Regions from separate parts of the Homo sapiens genome. Here all the other regions are linked to region 3. The links are contacts of gene promoters, found by promoter capture Hi-C in blood cells and fetal thymus (Javierre and others, 2016). All regions are on one chromosome and are shown on one strand. Each heading gives the region's core, a stretch centred on a gene start or on the middle of the fragment in contact. The rest is flanking DNA. Distances are from core to core; before and after follow the strand shown.

The links. Contacts are between HindIII fragments. The CHiCAGO score rates a contact against its expected background, and 5 or more counts as called.
Region 1: a contact is called between a fragment that was not itself captured here and the fragment with the promoter of THAP9 in region 3, in 1 of 17 cell types (total CD4 T cells). The highest score is 5.2, in total CD4 T cells.
Region 2: a contact is called between a fragment that was not itself captured here and the fragment with the promoter of THAP9 in region 3, in 5 of 17 cell types (naive CD4 T cells, total B cells, naive CD8 T cells and 2 more). The highest score is 10.0, in naive CD4 T cells.
Region 4: a fragment that was not itself captured here is called in contact with the fragment with the promoter of THAP9 in region 3 in 1 of 17 cell types (fetal thymus); the score reaches 6.6 in fetal thymus.

What each region holds. Positions count from the first base shown.
Region 1 is chr4:82,354,048-82,358,161 of GRCh38, forward strand. It overlaps HNRNPD (heterogeneous nuclear ribonucleoprotein D), which reads right to left. Exons shown (of 9, transcript NM_031370.3): 5 at 3,266-3,397; 6 at 2,749-2,848; 7 at 2,490-2,636; 8 at 1,257-1,354; 9 at 1-107. The coding sequence ends at 1,287. Among named protein-coding and RNA genes, the nearest start is that of HNRNPD, 18 kb to the right of the region's middle. The HindIII fragment of the contact is 1,623 bases long and covers 1,091-2,713 here.
Region 2 is chr4:83,434,047-83,438,471 of GRCh38, forward strand. It overlaps HELQ (helicase, POLQ like), which reads right to left. Exons shown (of 18, transcript NM_133636.5): 9 at 2,812-3,051. Among named protein-coding and RNA genes, the nearest start is that of HELQ, 20 kb to the right of the region's middle. The HindIII fragment of the contact is 3,055 bases long and covers 921-3,975 here.
Region 3 is chr4:82,897,478-82,901,984 of GRCh38, forward strand. THAP9 (THAP domain containing 9) reads left to right here and starts at 3,258. Exons shown (of 5, transcript NM_024672.6): 1 at 3,258-3,405. The coding sequence starts at 3,326. THAP9-AS1 (THAP9 antisense RNA 1) reads right to left here and starts at 3,439. Exons shown (of 4, transcript NR_034077.1): 1 at 2,857-3,439; 2 at 2,600-2,746. SNORD144 (small nucleolar RNA, C/D box 144) reads right to left here and starts at 748; the gene lies at 663-748. It also overlaps a transcript of SEC31A not described here. RefSeq lists enhancers at 2,703-3,222, 2,838-2,957, 3,223-3,742 and a silencer at 3,268-3,617. The HindIII fragment of the contact is 4,998 bases long and covers 54-4,507 here.
Region 4 is chr4:82,280,267-82,284,832 of GRCh38, forward strand. All of the region lies in intron 1 of LOC105377308 (a long non-coding RNA gene), which reads right to left. Among named protein-coding and RNA genes, the nearest start is that of HNRNPD, 91 kb to the right of the region's middle. RefSeq lists a silencer at 4,557-4,566. The HindIII fragment of the contact is 2,033 bases long and covers 2,200-4,232 here.

The sequences.
Region 1 (4,114 bases), core at 652-3,151, 540 kb before region 3:
CTTCCATTCAGGGACTTGATACAAAAAATTTAGTTTGAACTGCTATTAGCAGGTGGCAGGAGCCACCTTCAAATGAATCTTCAAATTGGAAAATACTGCTTCACCACCTGGAGACAAAGAAGAAAAAATAGAAGTCACTCTGGGCAGGCTACAACACTTAACAAAAATTTACATAAAACTGAGTTATCCCTATGTTCCACTATATGTAAATACTGTATAACATTAAATGTGTGATATGTTTTATAAATTAAAGCTGAACAGTAGAGTCCATGAGCTGTAAATCCACATGTGCACCACTGGTTTAAGATGTGATATGCTTTTACAAGTATTCTTTAAAATATAAAAAGCTTTAAAGTATTTACCCAAAGAACTCATAAAAAGGTCAATTTGGTAAAAGGACATTTTGACCCAAGAGCATCTAATATTTAAGCTTATTTTATTGGATAAGCATATCTCTTGTCCATCACAAGTTATAGAAAAGTTATATACGACTAAAAGAAAAAGTTATCTACTGTAATTATAGGAAGTTGTCACAACAGGAATTCAGCTCAAGAACTTCTTGCAATTACTGCTACAACGTCTATAAATGGGAAAAGCAAGCATTAAAATAGATTAATAAAATATAAAATTAAGACTGGAAAATCCAGAGACAAGCTGTATCCTTAGAAGAATAAATAGTTAAAATTATTCAGTAAGCTGACGTATTTAACCATTACTGGGCCTGTAAAAAATGCATTAAAATTACATTACAAATAGTTTTTAAAAAGCAAAGAAATAAGTGAAGGCAAAGCTTGAAGTATCCATTTTATTTTATAATGCTGATACAGGATGTTGGAAGAGACCATACCAAACGGCAGCATTCGAGAGCGTGAGCATCTCGTACCCTGTCCGCATTGAGCGGGCCTGTGAGAATCGTGAAGTCAGCGCGACACAGGGCCTGCAATGAAGTTCCCGCTGGCGGGTACAAACAAGGTATAATGTCAGAGTTAGTAGGCAATACTTTTTTGCTGCAATTCCTTAATTTGTACCCATTAGCAGTACTTTACCTGTTAACTTTACTGACTTGTTAATAATAGGACAAAAAGGCAAAAGCTTAAGAGCACCTGTGTTACATATCTTTGAAAGTCACTATGTTATAATATGGTAAGCACTTCTGGGTGCTGTGAAACTCTTAAATTAAGCATTGTTTTATGAACAATATAGATTATAAAAACTACTATTGTAAATGACAAAAAAAAACTATTTTTAGAACATACCTGTTGGGGATAAGTTGCAAATGGAATAATTTAGTATGGTTTGTAGCTATTTTGATGACCACCTCGCCTGGATACCTTCCCATAACCACTCTGCTGGTCTAAAATAAAACAAGTGTTAGAACCAGAACGGTAGTGGTTACATACTAATAATCAGAACAGTACCTAATTTTAAACAATCTCAAAAAATTAAGGGTAGCTTAATTCCCAAGTGTGAAAAATTCACCCTGAGCAATCATTTATCAAATAATTTACCAAATATGTAGTGAATGCATACAATGGCAGGCATTCAGAATGAGCTGATTACTTGACTTATTGTATAAAATGGGAGACAATCCCCTCACCCTTACAGTTTAAAAGTTTTAAGTTTCAAAGGATGGACAGCTGACCCTTTCACAACCACCAGCAAAAAATATCTTAAAATTTAGAACAAATTGTCAACCACAATCAGTGCTTAGTATCTCTGCCCTTCTAAGAAAAGGGCCCCAATCTCACCCAATCCATCTTTGCTGACCTTCTTCTGACTTTAATTAACCTATTATTGTGCAGCAGGCCTAGTCACCTAAGAAAGGATATAACTCCAAGAACTGGTCTAACCAAGGAAGGAAAAGAAAAACCACTTAAAACAATGCAACCAATGCAACCACTCTCCTCCAAAAAAATGTAAGATTGCTTCTAGTAGAACCCTTTACCTGACGACTCAACAGTTGCTACAAATCAGGTGGAGAGCAACTACCTTAGTTGCACAATGAAGTCAGGGCTTTCCATGTCTAAAAGTCAAGTTTTTTGGTTCTATCAAGCTCAACATCTGTTTTAAGAGTTTCTACATTAATAATCCTAAAGCGAGGATACTATTAGTTTTAACTGGCAACATGTGGTATTATTCAGTTTTATAGGATTAAGACACATCATGCCAAGATTATTGGTTGGTCCAAGAAGTGACATTTAGAATACCTTGAGCTTAAAAGATCTGAACTGAGCTTAAAATTTTTAAATCCAAGTAAAACAAATGCCCAGCAAACATATATAGAACCACACATACACCCTACCCTTATAATGTGTGTGTGATATAGGCTGGGAGGAACCAAGCAATAAAATGGCTGCAGTTTCAAGTTTCCAGGAATTTGAAACCTGAAGACATTTGCACTTGGCAAGGCTACACTAACCTTTCTGCCTATCCAAATTTGTACAAAATAAATGTCAAATAGCAGTTAATATAAAAAGTATAGTACTTACTGCTATAATCACCATATCCATAGTAGTTGTTGTAACCAGTGTAGTCATATCCTCCATAACCACCGTAACCTTGGCTGTTATATCCATAGTTGCCATAGCCTTGATTCCAATAGTTACTATATCCCTGGTTCCAGTTTTGACTGGGGCCTGCAGCACATTAATAGGTTCACTAAAGTCAGAAGATCAGCAAAGATCTTTACTTCAGGATAATTAAAAAGCAGAAAAGCTTAAGATAGAGTAAACTTAGGCTCTAGCTTACCACCACCTCTTCCACGAGCTCTTCCTGCAAATCCTCCTCTAGATCCCCACTGTTGCTGTTGCTGATATTGTTCCTTCGACATGGCTACTTTTATTTCACACTAAAAGAGAAAAATTACATTATTAAACTGACTCAAGAAAATAAAAGTTGCTAAATAAGTTTCTAATAACCAGAATAGCCAACATGTTTAAATAGAGTAGGCTAATTTGAAACTTTCCTCAGTCAGTTTATTAATTAAACCAATATTTAGTACTTAAGAGTAATCACTTATGAGTACTTGCTAGTGATGTTACTTCATTTTACTTGTCAAGTTCTAAAAACTATTTTTGTGAAAGCCTAGACAAAAACACTAACAAATGTGTCCATCCTGCTCCCCACAAAAAGTTGGTCAATGGTAAGTAACCAATGAGAAGTTTTTAAAGCATGCAAAGAACTTAAGCCTTTACAGAGAAAGATAAATGGTTAAGCTCTTTACAACAGCTAGTTTTCTCTACAAGTAAATGGATGCTTAACTTACTTTACTAAGACCAACATTGTGGTATTTCTTTTCCATTATCTTCTTCACTGGTTCTTCTTCCTTAAAGGTAATAAAGCAGAACCCACGCCTCTTATTGGTCTTGTTGTCCATGGGGAGCTCTATGGATTCCACCTGGTATTAAAAAACAAATTTTAATATGCTAACATGCATTTTATTGACCTTAAAAGAAACACAAGTTTAGAGGGGGGAAAACACACAAAGAAAACATGTATTTGGCACTGAAGTTCTAGTCTCCTGTTTCTCCCTATTTATTCTAATCCTTTTAAGGAATTCTTCAAATTAGAACACCCATTCCATCTAAGGTCTTCACAACTATTTACAAAAATAAGCTTTACCACGCACTGACATTTACTACCTAACTCAAGGGTCACAAATTCAAATGCCCACAAAGAACAAGAAGAAAACAGTCAAATCTAAGAAAAACAGAATAAAAATGTATTTGAGAGAAAACAGGAAGTAGGGTGGTGAGGACTACTAAAAACTGGAGAGCATATGCCCAAACCAAGATGGAAGCTACTACTCAGTTTGAGAGATGCTGCCGTACAGGAGGGCAGCGTCAGTTCCCATGTTGCGTGCTCTTGCAAGTATTTTTTAAAAAGCTAGATACTGAGTTTTGTGGGCAATATCTCAAATCCTCAACACTAAAAAAGCACTTATTGTTTCAATCAAGCAATAAATGTCTGTGGGACGTATCTGGAGCCCAAGGCCACAAATTTCTCAACTTTCATTAATTCATAAAAGAAACCTCTATTATCTACCTATTTCACTAATGAGTCTAAGTTTGTTTTACTTTTAATTGAGACGGGGTCCCACTATGTTGTCCAGGAT
Region 2 (4,425 bases), core at 1,198-3,697, 540 kb after region 3:
AAAAAAATTAACTTTATTTAAAAATTCATAAAAAATTTGAAGGGCCAGGTGTGGTGGCTCACACCTGTCAATCTAGCACTTCGGGAGGCCACGGTGGGCAGATCACCTGAGGTCAGGAGTTTGAGACCAGCCTGGCCAACATGGCGAAACCCCGACTCTACTAAAAATATAAAAATTAGCCAGGTGTGGTGGTGGGCGCCTGTAATCCCAGCTACTTGGGAGGCTGAGGCAGGAGAATCGCTTGAACCCAGGAGACAGAGGTTGCAGTGAGCCGAGACCGCACCACTGCACTCCAGCCTGGCCACTGGGCAACAGAGTAAGACTCTGTCTCACAAAAAAGAAAATTCAATTGAAGAACTGAATAATGAATGAAAATAGTTAATGGATACAGTTAATGTAGTTAATGGATATCAGTTAAAAACTCATTTTTTTTTTTGAGACAGGGTCTCACTGTTGCCCAGGCTGGAGTGCAGTGGTACAATCATAGCTAACTGCAGCCTCGATGTCCTGGGCTCAAGCAATCTTCCCACCTCAGCCTCTCGAGCAGCTGGGATCACAAGTGTATGCCACCATGCCCAGCTAAGTTTTTAATTTTTTAGTAGAGATGAGGTCTTGCTATGTTGTCCAGACTGGTCTCAAACTCCTGGGCTCAAGCAATCCTCCTACCTTTGCCTCCCAAAGTGCTGGGATTACAAAAAAACTGATTTTTTGATATGGAAGGTAAAGTTGAAAAAAATTACATGGCACAAACGTGTGCTTACATTCTTCCACATTCTGAAAAATGTGTAAGAAAAGAGATACGAAAGCTGAATCTAAGAGGCCTCAACCCTGCCTAAGTGAAATTATAAAAGCAAGGAACAGAGATAATGGGAAGAAAAAGAAATAACAGAAAAAAAATTACTCAAAGAAGAAAGGCATAAAGCTTAGATTAAAAGCATCCACCCAAGTGCTAAGCCCTATGAATGAAAAGTAGTACTGTTGGGATTGTAAAATCAAACTTCCTGGGTTCAAACACTGGCTTTAAAACTCATTTGTTGGAAAATGAGTTGGGAAAAAGTTATGTAACTTTTTAAAGTTGGGAAAATTATTTAATTATTTAGTGCCTCAGTTTCCCCTTCTATAATAGGTGTGTAATAAAATATGACCTTCCTCACAGAGTTATTGTGAAGCTGTATCAAGTCAATGCATGTAAAGTTGTTACTACATGAAAGGGAGGGGAATGTAGTAATTACAACTATTATTATACACCATGACAAAATTGGGAGGTTAAAGAGAAAAGTCTAAAAGTTTCTGGAAAAGAAAAACAGAAAATCCATGCAGAGACAAAAATGAGCAACATTGGCCTCTAGAAAATATGGAACAATATTTACAAAATCCCTAAAGGAAAAAAATTGAATCTAGAATTCTTTTGCTAGTGAAGTGTAAAAGTGTGAGGCCAAAATACAGATATCTTCAACTATGCAAAGAGTCAAAATGTTTTACCCCCTAAAGCGGTATTCTAAAAAGGATTACTCAAGGAAGGCAAAATTAAAAAAAAAAAAATCAGAGAAGAAAGATGTGGGATATAAGAGGCAGTGGTAAGCAAAAAAGAAGTATGATTTACAGGTAAGTTTAAATACTACATAAGATGAAAGAAAATGTTTAAATCTGGCACTAAAATTCTAAGTAATTGCAACATTCATGGGGCAGAGTAGAATATACTAAGGACATGCTAAGCCTCTTTTTATGTTCAGGAGAGGACAGTTATTGATTAATTCTAAAGTAATAAAAAATGTTTGGTTACAACTTAAAATTTTAAGAGTAACCACTGGAATAATAGAAACAGGATATATAACTTTCATTTTTTTCTTCAATTGTCTGAAAAATGGAAAACTTAATGAGAGACAGAAATTGAAAATAAAAGAATGGAAAAAGGTACATACGTGGCAAAAAAAAAAAATGAGTCCTGGTATTCAAAGCAAAATTATTAAATGAGAAAAACAAGTATTTATTGTATTGATAAAAGGTATAATTCGGCAATAAGATATTTGAAGTAAACCTTTGTATATCTAAATAGTTTTGAAATATAAAAAGTAATAACTTCTAGAGATGCAAAAAGGAGAAACTGATAACTACATAATTAAAGTGGGAGACTAACACACTTCTCTGAAATTGATAGACCAAGGAATCAAATATAGTAAGAAAATAGAGAAGCCGATAACACAATGAACCTCTGTGATCTCGCTGAGATGTACAAAACTGCATATTCAACTGAAAATACATATTTTTTTAAACACTCATGGAAAGTTTATAAAAATTGATCATTTATTAGCAAAATACCCCATGATCATAAATTATAAAGGGGAGAAGTCAATTACACAGGCCTACACCTTTGGTAATAACTGGAAAGGTAATCAAGGGCCTGCTTTAAAATACATATATTAGACACAAATTGCCTATGGATCAGCTCTCCAAGATTTCAAGGAAATCTCTATGTTAAATAAACTCTTTCATATCATAAAAAAGGTAAAACACTTGCCAACTATTTCTACAAAACCAGATTAATAGACCCTAACATCAAAACCAGATATAAAGAGCAGAAAGGATGGAATTCTAATATCAAGAAATCTATTAACGTTATTTTTCATTACATATTTCATTACATATTCATTAAAATATTAAAGAAAATAAACCAACCAATCAACTCAGCATATGCTAAAAGAACATTTGATAAATTCTCATCCACTACTGAGAAAGCATAAAACAACAAAACTCCTCGCAAGCTAGAAATGGAAAAGTTCTGAGCCTGGTCAACACTTACTTATCTCTTACCTTCGAGCTGGTAGGTTGACACCTGCCGCTAGGGTAGATGTGCAGGTAAAAAGACAGAGCACTCCTGTGGAGTAGGCCTCCTCCAAGAGTTTCCTTTCATCACTTGTTAAGCCACTGTGGTGATAGGCAACTCCAAATGGGATAGTGCGCTTTAAAACAGGACACAGGTTGCCATTGCCAATATTCTTCAAGTTCTTAATCACCTCACATTTTTCTTTCTCCTTATGTTTCAGATATTCCCTATGAAAAAGATCTGTTAGAAATATGAGCCCTTGATCTTTTAGTGACAAAATTTCTACCATTTTCATTTTAGTAGATGCTAATGTAAACATTCTTTAATGTACTATTTCCATTGAGTTAAGTACATTAAATGTTCTTAGAATTTTGATTCTGACTTCATTAACTATTAGGCAGTCTCTCAATCTTTTTGTGGATTACAGAACCCTGTGAAAATCTTATCAAAACTAAGGAAAGGCGAAATGCGATGGCTCATGCCTGTAATCTCAGCACTTTGGGAGGTAGAGGCAGAAGGATTGCTTGAGCCCAAGAGTTCAAGATCAGCTTGGGCAGTGAAGCAAGACCACCTCTACAAAAAATAACAAAAATTAGCCGGGCATGGTGGTGCATGCACCTGCAGTTCCAGGCTATGGGGGAGGATGAGGTGGGATGATTGCTTGAACCCGGGAGTTTGAGGTTGCAATGAGCTATGAACCTACCAGCCTGGGTGAAAGAGCAAAGCCTTGTCTAAAAAAAAAAAAAAAAAAAAGGAAAAATATAACTATTTACATAAATACAACACTTTACATATAATTTCAGAGGGTTCGTGGATTTCCTAAAATTCATTCCTGTACTTCCTTTGAATCCATGGACACCAGGTTTAGACCTTTGCTCTGGATGTTATAACTGTTTTTTTCTTTATAACATATATCTTTATAGGGGATAGTTTTTTTAAAGACATAAATTTTCTTTTCTGAAGATGGAAACATACATATTATTAAATCATACTTCCATGGTAAAACACTGCCTAAACACTTGCACTTTAGAAACTTCACATCCTACAATGTTTCCATCACTTAGCCAGTGTCTCCATCTTATTACCTTGAATTACTCTAAGAAAATGAATGATTTACTGAGAATTTTTTTAATGATAATTTAATTTCCTTAAGCTTTTATAATCAAAATCATTGTAAAAGCAGACTGTTACCAAAATGAGCAACTCCTTCATCTTATTCCAAACATTTTTATATTTTGCTATTCAATAAATTTAAGTCTATCTTAGACCAATCCATGATAGTAGGATTGAAAGAGGAGGTAGAGGTTGACTAGATTAGCATTCAGGTTAATAGACTATGAATAGTGATACAGCATTAGCTAAGGGGCTGAAAGAAATCTCAGAAAATGATAAAACCACACATGGGACAAACAGGTGTATAAAAAACTGAACTGTTAGTAGTTAAAGTAACTTCATACTTATCTCTATGAATACGACAGAGCCAATATTAAGATACTACAAAATTATAAGACAACACATTTCTTACTCAGGAAATTATATCCAAATGTCCATACAACTAAGTGTGAAGTTTACTAAGAAAACAAAGGCAGGCCAGGCGCAGT
Region 3 (4,507 bases), core at 2,008-4,507:
AGAAATAAATATTGTTTAAGAAAACCAACTCTTTCTATATACTGTATATAAAAAGCTTAGCAGCCTGGGCAACATGGTAAAACCCTGTCTCTACCAAATATACAAAAAAAAATTAGCCAGGTGTAGTGGTACATGCATGTGGTCCCAGCTACTTAGGAAGCTGAGGTGGGAAGATTGCTTGGGCCTGGAAGACAGAGGTTGCAATAAGCTGAGATTGCGCCACTGCACTCCAGCCTGGGTGACAGAGTGAGACCCCATCTCAAAAAATAAAATAAAATGAAATGAAATTAAAAAAAGCTCAGCATAATTTGTGGCCCATAGTAACTGGCCAATAAATAAATATCTGTTATTATTCTTTCCAAGTGGACAATTAATGAGATTATATACCATAAAATAGGTAGATTTCATTAAAGCCTTAATAAATGTTTTTTACTTGGACAATCCTCCATTTCCAACTCACTGCTATAGTTCCAGGAATACTTAATACATTTAAAATAGAAAGATATACTACCTTCCCTGCATATTTTGAGTAATTATCTTCCAAGACCCATGTATCTTTTCTCAACATCTCTGAGAGTACAATTCCTGAAAAGAGATATTTTCTTTTAAAATTTTTTGTGCAATAGTCAATGCCTTTGCAAATAACACTATCTTTAATACAGCTTACATATCCTCATTTAAGTATTCAATAATCACAACGGTTCATTATGTGAACAGCAGTGAAAAGGTTTAATCACTGGATATGAAGTTACTAGAAGAAGCAATGATATAACCAAATGATCAGATTGAGAACTTCCATGTCAACAGTAAAATAATCACAACAACAAAAAAAGTATAGATAAGTTATAAACAAATGTAAAGATACAAAAATACAACTAAGAAAAAAAAATTCCATCTATAAAGGATTACTTATTTCCTATGCAGAAGTAAATATCTAGAGCAGTGACCCCTTGCGGCTATTGCCTTCATTTAAGTAAATCTGTTCTGATAAAAGCAGTTTTCAGAAATTCATCTGAAATTAACAATTAAAGGAATGTTGTCAGAATAATGTAGGAAGCACACTATTTCATCTTTAGGAAAGGCAAATAGTTGCAATCCAATTAAACAGGAAAGAAAACAGCCCTCATTTCAGATGATGAACTGGCAGCAGTACTTTCAACTCTACCTTAAGAAAATGGCAAGTGAATGCCTGTATCTGCAAACTTTTGAGTCCTTAAGAAAAGGCAAACACCACGATGAGACAGCCACTTCACATGCACAAAAATGTGGAGAAACTGGCAGCCTCATCCACTGCTGGTGGGAATGTAAAATGGTGCAGCCACTAGGGAAAATAATCTGGCACTTCCTCAAGAAGCTAAACACAGTTATCTTATGACTCACCAATTCCACTCTTAGGTGTGTAATCAGGAAAATGAAAACATTTGTCCACACAAAAACTTGTACACAAATGTTCATAATAGTAAAAAAAAAAATTGGAAAACCCAAATGTCCACCAACTGTTGAACGGATAAACAAAATCTGCTACATCCATAAAATGGAGTACGATTCAGCAATAAAAAATAAAGTACTGATACGTGCTATAAGATGGATGAACTCTGAAAACATTCCAAGTGAAAGAAGCCAGTCACAAAGACCATATATTAGTTCATAATTCCACTTACATGAAGTGTACAGAGCAGGCAGAGGCACACGGAAACTAAATTAGTGTTTGCTGAGCGGGGTGGGGGAATATTTGGAGGTGCTGCTAGTAAGAATGAGGTTTCTTTCTGGAGTGATGAAAATGTTCTAATATTGATTGTGACTGTTCCACAATTCTGTGCATATACTAAAACCCACTGAATTGTACACTTTAAACCAATTAGTTGTGTGGTATGAGAATTATATCTGAGTAAAACTGTTACAAAAATATAAGGCAACTAATTTTTTCCTTAAAGATAGCTAAAAACAATGTTATTTTTATTCAGCCTCACTCGGGTCTTAATTGGTTGAGCAGGAAAAGGCTCTAACAGCCCAACCAACTTACAGTATTTAAATCCAGTTCTTACTCTCTGCACACACCTTACAGCCAAAAAGTATTTGCCCTGCACATCCCCCAGGGACCAATTTTTCCAAAGTTCCTTGACCATCTATCCTTAGGCCATGTGACTTTTAAGGAACCATAACCAAAAGCTATTAATTCCATTCAGAGAAGATACAAGCATATTATAATGGAAAACTGGTGTGAATAAGTAATACCTTAATATGTATCTTCGGCTGTAATCTGGACAAAGTAAACACAAAGGGGAAAAAGAAGCAATCTTGTTAGGCCTGGATATTTGGAATTATTTTTGTGTGCTATACAAAGAAACGGAAAAGTTGCAAACCCTTCTCTGTTTTCTGTATGCTAAGGATCTCCTTCTCAGAGACAAAAACCCACTGGCCCGTTTCCTTCTCTAAGCAAATTGAAATCTCTTCCTCAAACATAAGAGCTTATAACTAAGACATTGTTCTAAGCTCTATCTCCTGAAAGCTATTCATAATGCCTCATTCCCAACCAAAACCACTTAATTGCCCCTTGTCCCCTGCCCCTATTACTACTGAGGAGCCCCAAGAACCTTACCTTATTTCCTTCATTGTGGCAAAGTGTTTCAGAAAAGGGTTCCTTGAATTAAAAGTCGGCGTATCCTATTTGACTCCTGCTCCTCCGGTATCACATACCTACAGCCAACCATGCCAAGAGCTTCCCCATTATCTCCGCATCGGAGAGCTACAAGATAAAGCGCAAGAACACGACACGCATCTCAGTAAATCATATATTTTTGGCCCGACTCTGTCTTCAACACACCTAAGGCACCGTGTTTTATCCCTCTTCCATACCCTTTCCTCCCGATATCCTCCAGTTTCAGAGACCGCACCCGGAGACCCATTGGCAGGTTCCTGGATTCGCCTCAATTTTGGTCCTGCCTCTCTGCTTCGCATTTTCAGGCTTGGCCTCACAAGAAGGACGATGGCGCCAGATTGTGCCAGAATGGGTGAAAACAGAAGGAAAATAAACCGGTTGCAGCAAAACCCACTATTCCGCCTCCAACGCGGAGGGAGGAGCGGTCAAATGCACGTCTTCAGGCTCAGGCCCTTCCGATTGGCTGCTGGGACACAACGTGGCCTGTCATTGGCTACGGCACCGGCGCAGGGCCTTCGGAGAGGAAGTGTGGAAGTCCCGCGCCTCTAAAGCCCGCCTTTCGTGACAAATAAAGGTCGTAGCCGCAGAGTCAACGGGCGGAGCTAAAGTGGTCGTGATTCATGCTGTCGCGGGAACCCCGAAGGTGGGGCCCCACGTAACAAGAAGATGACCCGAAGTTGCTCCGCAGTGGGCTGCAGCACCCGTGACACCGTGCTCAGCCGGGAGCGCGGCCTCTCCTTCCACCAGTGCGTATGGGAGCAGCCTCGAAGCCTTCGAACTCCCTGCGGGGCCCGGCGGGCCGTGGCGTGGCGTGGGGCGGGGCCGGGCCGCACTGTGGGTCGCGCCGCGTGTGTGACGCGACGTGACGTGCGCAGCGTCGGGGCGTGGGAGCGGAATTGGGGCACTGTGAGAATTGAGATTCTCTCTCTTCCCGCCCAGTGTTTACCTCTGAATAGCCGGTTCTCGCACCGCCTACCGCTTTAAGGAGAGTTACGCGAAAGGAGTCCTCCATTAATTGGATGGTCTTATTATTTGAAGTGAGGAGGCCGAAAGGGAAGGCAGTTTAGGACAACGGTTGAAGTGTGTGTGTGGCGTCTTCCTGAGCACGAGTACAGATCAGTTTTCTCCTGTACTGCCTGACATTGCAAGTTCTTAAGTGCTGTTAGCCGAGCTGTGCAAGGCCGGTCCGATTCTGGCTGGATTTGATCATGGCAGGGAAGTTTCATTTGGCTCGACAGTGGGGAAGAATTTCAGATCAGTCTTATCTGAACTCATATCCATGGTTCAGACTGGTATAGGTCATTCAGTATTCAGGGTACACTAGCAAGTAGAAAAGTGGGTAAAATAGATCCTCACAGACAAAAGGAGCAGATTTATGGAAAGATCAAAAAGAACTTTATGGTTGGAAAGGGGGGGTAGGAAGAGGGTAGTTAGGAATGGCATGGGAAAATGTAAAGGATAGAAAGTGCAAATATAGAGGAGTGGAAAAGTACCTGAGAAACCATTTTAAAAATGTAAATGCCAGGTTAAGGAGTTTAGAGTATGTATGGTAGGCTATGTATAAAATTCATTGATTTTTTTTTTTTTTTGTTTTCTATTTTTTAAATAGGGCTGATTCCTCCACCTAAATTGTTAGCAGTGTGAACCAACTCATTGTGTATGTGAGACCATAATTGATTTGGGATTTTTCTTGTGATAGAGGTAGTTTTAAACTAGGGAGACATGAATTCCAATTTTAATTGAGTATTTACTGATGTCTGTACTTGGCTCTGGGTCTTGGTTTCTTCTTCTGTAAGAGGAATAAAAACCTGCCTTGTAGAATTTTGTAAAACTAAAACGTAAGACTTT
Region 4 (4,566 bases), core at 1,966-4,465, 620 kb before region 3:
CCTTGCCTAGTATGACACTAAGGTCCAACAAAAATGTCTAAATAAAAAAATAGACACCATAAAGAAAAAGAAAAATCAAATAATAAACCTCAAAAGAAACATCTGAGATATATATATGATAGTCAAAGAAAACATTGTTAATTTAAAAAACAGGCCAGGCACGGTGGCTCACGCCTGTAATCCTAGCACTTTAGGACGCCAAGGCAGGCAGATCACCTGAGGTCAGGAGTTCGAGACCAGCCTGGCAAACATGGTGAAATCCCGTCTCTACCAAAAATATAAAAATTAGCCAGGCGTGGTGGCACACACCTGTAATCCCAGCTGCTTGGGTGGCTGAGGAGGAGAATCTCTGGAACCCAGGAGATGGAGGTTGCAGTGTGCCGAGACCACGCCACTGCATTCCAGCCTGGGCAGCAAGAGGGAGACTCCATCTCAAAAAAAAAAAAAAGGAAAAGAAAAGAAAGAACAGGCTGGGCATGGTGACTCACGCCTGTAATCCCAGCACTCTGGGAGGCCAAGGCAGATGAATCTCTTGAGTCCAGGAGTTCAAGACCAGCCTGGGCCACATGGTGAAACCCAGTCTCTACAAAAAGTACAAAAATTAGCCAGGCATGGTAGCATGTGCCTGTATTCCCAGCTGCTCAGGAGACTGAGGTAGGATGACAGCTTGATTCTGAGAAGTCAAGGCTGCAGTGAGCCAAGATTGTGCCACTGCACTCCAGCCTAGGTGACCAGTGAGACCCTGCCTAAAAATAAAAAGAACAAAATTAGCAGAGCATGGCGGCACTTGTCTGTACTCCCAGCTACTCAGGAGGCGAAGGCAGGAAGATCACTTGAGACCAAGAGTTCGAGGCTGCAGTCAGCTATGATCCCACCACTGCAGTCTAGCCTGGAAAACAGAGTAAGACTCGGTCTAAAAAAAAAAAAATTTTCAGAAAAATGTATATAAAATGCACAAAAATGAAAAGACAAATATAAATTAGATTATTCCAGTGGTTCTTTTATGGGATGGTAAAAATAGACAGGCTTTTACTCTAGTATTGTTTACTTTTTTTTTTTTTTTTAGACAAGGTCTCACTCTATTGCCTAGGCTGGAGTGCAGCAGTGCGATCATGACTCACTGCAGCCTTGACTTCTCAGCCTCAAACAATTTTCCCAGTTCAGCCTCCCAAGTAGCCGGGACCACAGGTGCGCACCATCACGTCCAGCTAATTTTTCTATTTTTTGTAGAGACGGGGTTTCACCATGTTGTCCAGGCTGGTCTTGAACTCCTGGGCTAAGGTGGTTCTCCCACCTGGGCCTCCCAAACTGCTGGGATTACAGGCTTCAGCCACTGTGCCCAGCCTAAATTTTTACAGTGATCACATACGTAAATAAAAAAATTATAAAAATGTTCCATTTTGAAGAACAATAACTAAAAAAACAGTCCTTTATGAGAGAACTTCAATACTTAATAAGACTCATCTTGAATTAGTGAGTGCTTGAAAGTCTCCAGCTGACAAAAACACTTACAAACTCTCTAATGACCTAAGAAGTCAGATGACTAAAAAATTAGTTGCTCTTCCTTCTGGGAAGCTAACCTCTAAAAAGCAATGATAATTCAGGCATAGTGGCTCACGCAGGTAATCCCAGCACTTCGGGAGGCTGAGGGGGTCGGATCACTTAAGGTCAGGGGTTCGAGACCAGACTGACCAACATGATGAAACCCTGTCTCTACTAAAAATACAAAATTAGCCAGGTGTGGTGGTGCACACTTGTAATCTCAGCTATTCAGGAGGCTGAGGCAGGAGAATCACTTTAACCCAGGAGGCAGAGGTTGCAGTGAGTCGAGATCGTGCTACTGCACTCAAGCCTGGGCAACGGAGTAAGACTCTGTCTCAAAAATAAATAAAATAAAAAGCAATGATAGTAGTATTCACCAGTCAAAGTACTGATGAGTCTAAAAGCATGTTGTGAAAGAAATTAACAACAGTGAAATGTCCCATTTCACCTTCCCAGGATCCTAGCTTCTCACCACTCTTTCTGCTGCATCCTCAAGATTGTATCAAACTATCAAGGGAAAGGTGGAAATGTCTGTGATATTTTATATTACCTGCCGTGGTTTTCATTCTCAGTTATTCTCTTTGGCACAAAAATGGAGAATGAAAAAAATGGAGGAGGAGGAAGGAGAGATGGAGGAAGAAGAGAGTAAGACAGAAAAGCTTCTCATTCTAAAAAGTTTCAAAATAGATTTTGGGAACTCTCTGAAAACAGAGTATATGGGGAAAAAAAGGTTTCAGACAATCAACGTTCATGGCATCAACTGGGAAAACGCCCAGGGTGGTCAGAGTTGCCCTACCTAGACTTGCTGGAATGTCCACATGTCAGAGAAGGACAGAATGAGAAGGAAGCACTCCAACTAGCTAGAGCCCTCTCTAGGAAGTGAGGGGTGACATAGTGTGGTGATGAGAAGACTCCTAGTAAATTGGGGATCCAAGAGCTTGCTTCCCAAATGAAGTAAGGTCTAAAAGCTGCTCCCCACATGATAGCAGTGACACAGCACAACAGGAGAGTGCGACAGGAGGGCATATTGTGACACAGCCTCTGGAGCCACCCGCAGCCTCACAATGACATGTGGGAGCAGTGGGAATTTTTCTTCGCCTCCAAGAGGACCAAAAAAGTGACTGAAAGAGAAACAGAGCACCTAAAGGGGCCTTGGGGTTCCAAGTAGAGTGTGTGACTGGTGATCAGAGACAGACAGAAAACAAACATTAGCTGCAGATTCCACCTTAGAGGGACGAAGGTCACTAATTGGAAGCTCTTTCCCTCCACCAAGTTTCCCACACTCAGAGATGCCACCCCATGGGGAAAGAAGGAAAGGGAGAAATCCTGAGTTAAGTGAGGAAACCTGGCATTGACTAGAGTAAGCCTTGGCTATCAGGCATAATACAGCATACAGAAAACATACAGGAAGGAAAGAAAGCACAAGGGACAGTATGCAATTGGAGGGGAGGATTAAAGGCTTAGAATGACTGCTGTGCTGAAAGCTCACCAGGGAGAAGGGGCTCAAAAAAGATAGATTTGTGGTGAGGTTTATTCGGTTTGTTTTTACTGTAAGCAAGACCCTGGGGTAAGCAAAAGCATTACCCCAGAGTTAACAAATTTCCTCTTCCCAGGTATAAGTAATGTGACCAGTGGTTTTAATCAGTCACCCTGCCTGTAACACAGACACACTTATCAAGCTGATAAGACACACTGATTCGAGATTTCCTGTATATAGGATACATGATTCAACAAGGCATTTTTCTCAGGAGCTATAGTGCAGACCAGTTTCGCTCCTTCCTTGTCAAATCCAATTTGATTACCCTGTGTTAAAGGAAATGGAATTGACTACCTGCCTTCACCCAGACACCCAGAAGGATACTGATTGTCATTCTTTAAGGTTACACCATTGGGTTCAGGCGCAGTGACACACCTGTAATCCCAGCACTTTAGGAGACCAAGGAGAGTGGACCACTTGAGGTCAAGAGTTCAAGACCAGTTTGGCCAACATGGTGAAACCCCGTCTCTACTAAAAATACAAAAATTAGTCAGGCGTGGTGGCACACACCTGTGGTCCCAGCTACTCAGGAGGCTGAGGTGGAAGGATCGTTTCAACCCAGAAGGTGGAGGTTGCAGTGAGCCGTGATCATGCCACTGCACTCTAGACCCTGTCTCAAAAAAAAAAAAAGATTACACCATTGGGAGCAAGAAAGTAATATGTACTTATCACAAATTACTGCAATTGCATAACTACTGTATGCTAATATTTTTGCATAATTATTTCATTTAAACTTGACAATTACCCCCATTTTATGAACTAGGAAACTGACTCTCAGAAAGATTAAGTTACATAAACTCATGGAGTACATGGGCAATGCCCATATATGAATCTAAGTTTGTCTGACTTCAAAGGCAAACTCTTTCCACTCTACCACAATACCTTGGTGATGAAAATATATAAGGTCACACTTTTAAAAAATTATTGTCAAGGCACCCAAGGTCTAAGACAACAAAAGTCATGCTACCACTCCTTCCACTCTGCCCTCCTACCTACTCTCTCATACACCTTTTCTCTGCCACACTCATCCCCCAAACCCACCTGCCTTCTTTCAAGCCTTTACAGAAGCTATTCCCTCTGCCTAGACTCTCCTATCTTTCTTTCCTCCCCACTTAGAGAACGCCAACCCATCCTCTAAGTCAAGGACTTTTAAAGCTTTGCTAGCTCTCCATCCCATCTTCTGCAGCTTTGTTCATCTTTCCCTGATAGCACACGCATACCACTTGAGACTGGCGTTTCTCCGCCTGTGCCTCTGTAACCACTACTAGAATATGAACTCCTCAACTTCAAGGTCGGGGCCGACCTACTTGCATACCCAGGAATCTAAGGCATTTAGCGCACAGCCGGAGTTCAATAAATGCCTGGATTAATGAATTAATTTTCTTTAAAATCAAGGTCTACATTTCACATGCTCTAGATTGTGAATAAATCATAAGGAGGTAAACACTATGAAGTACACTGGCGCTCGACAAATGATTTTAAGGAGA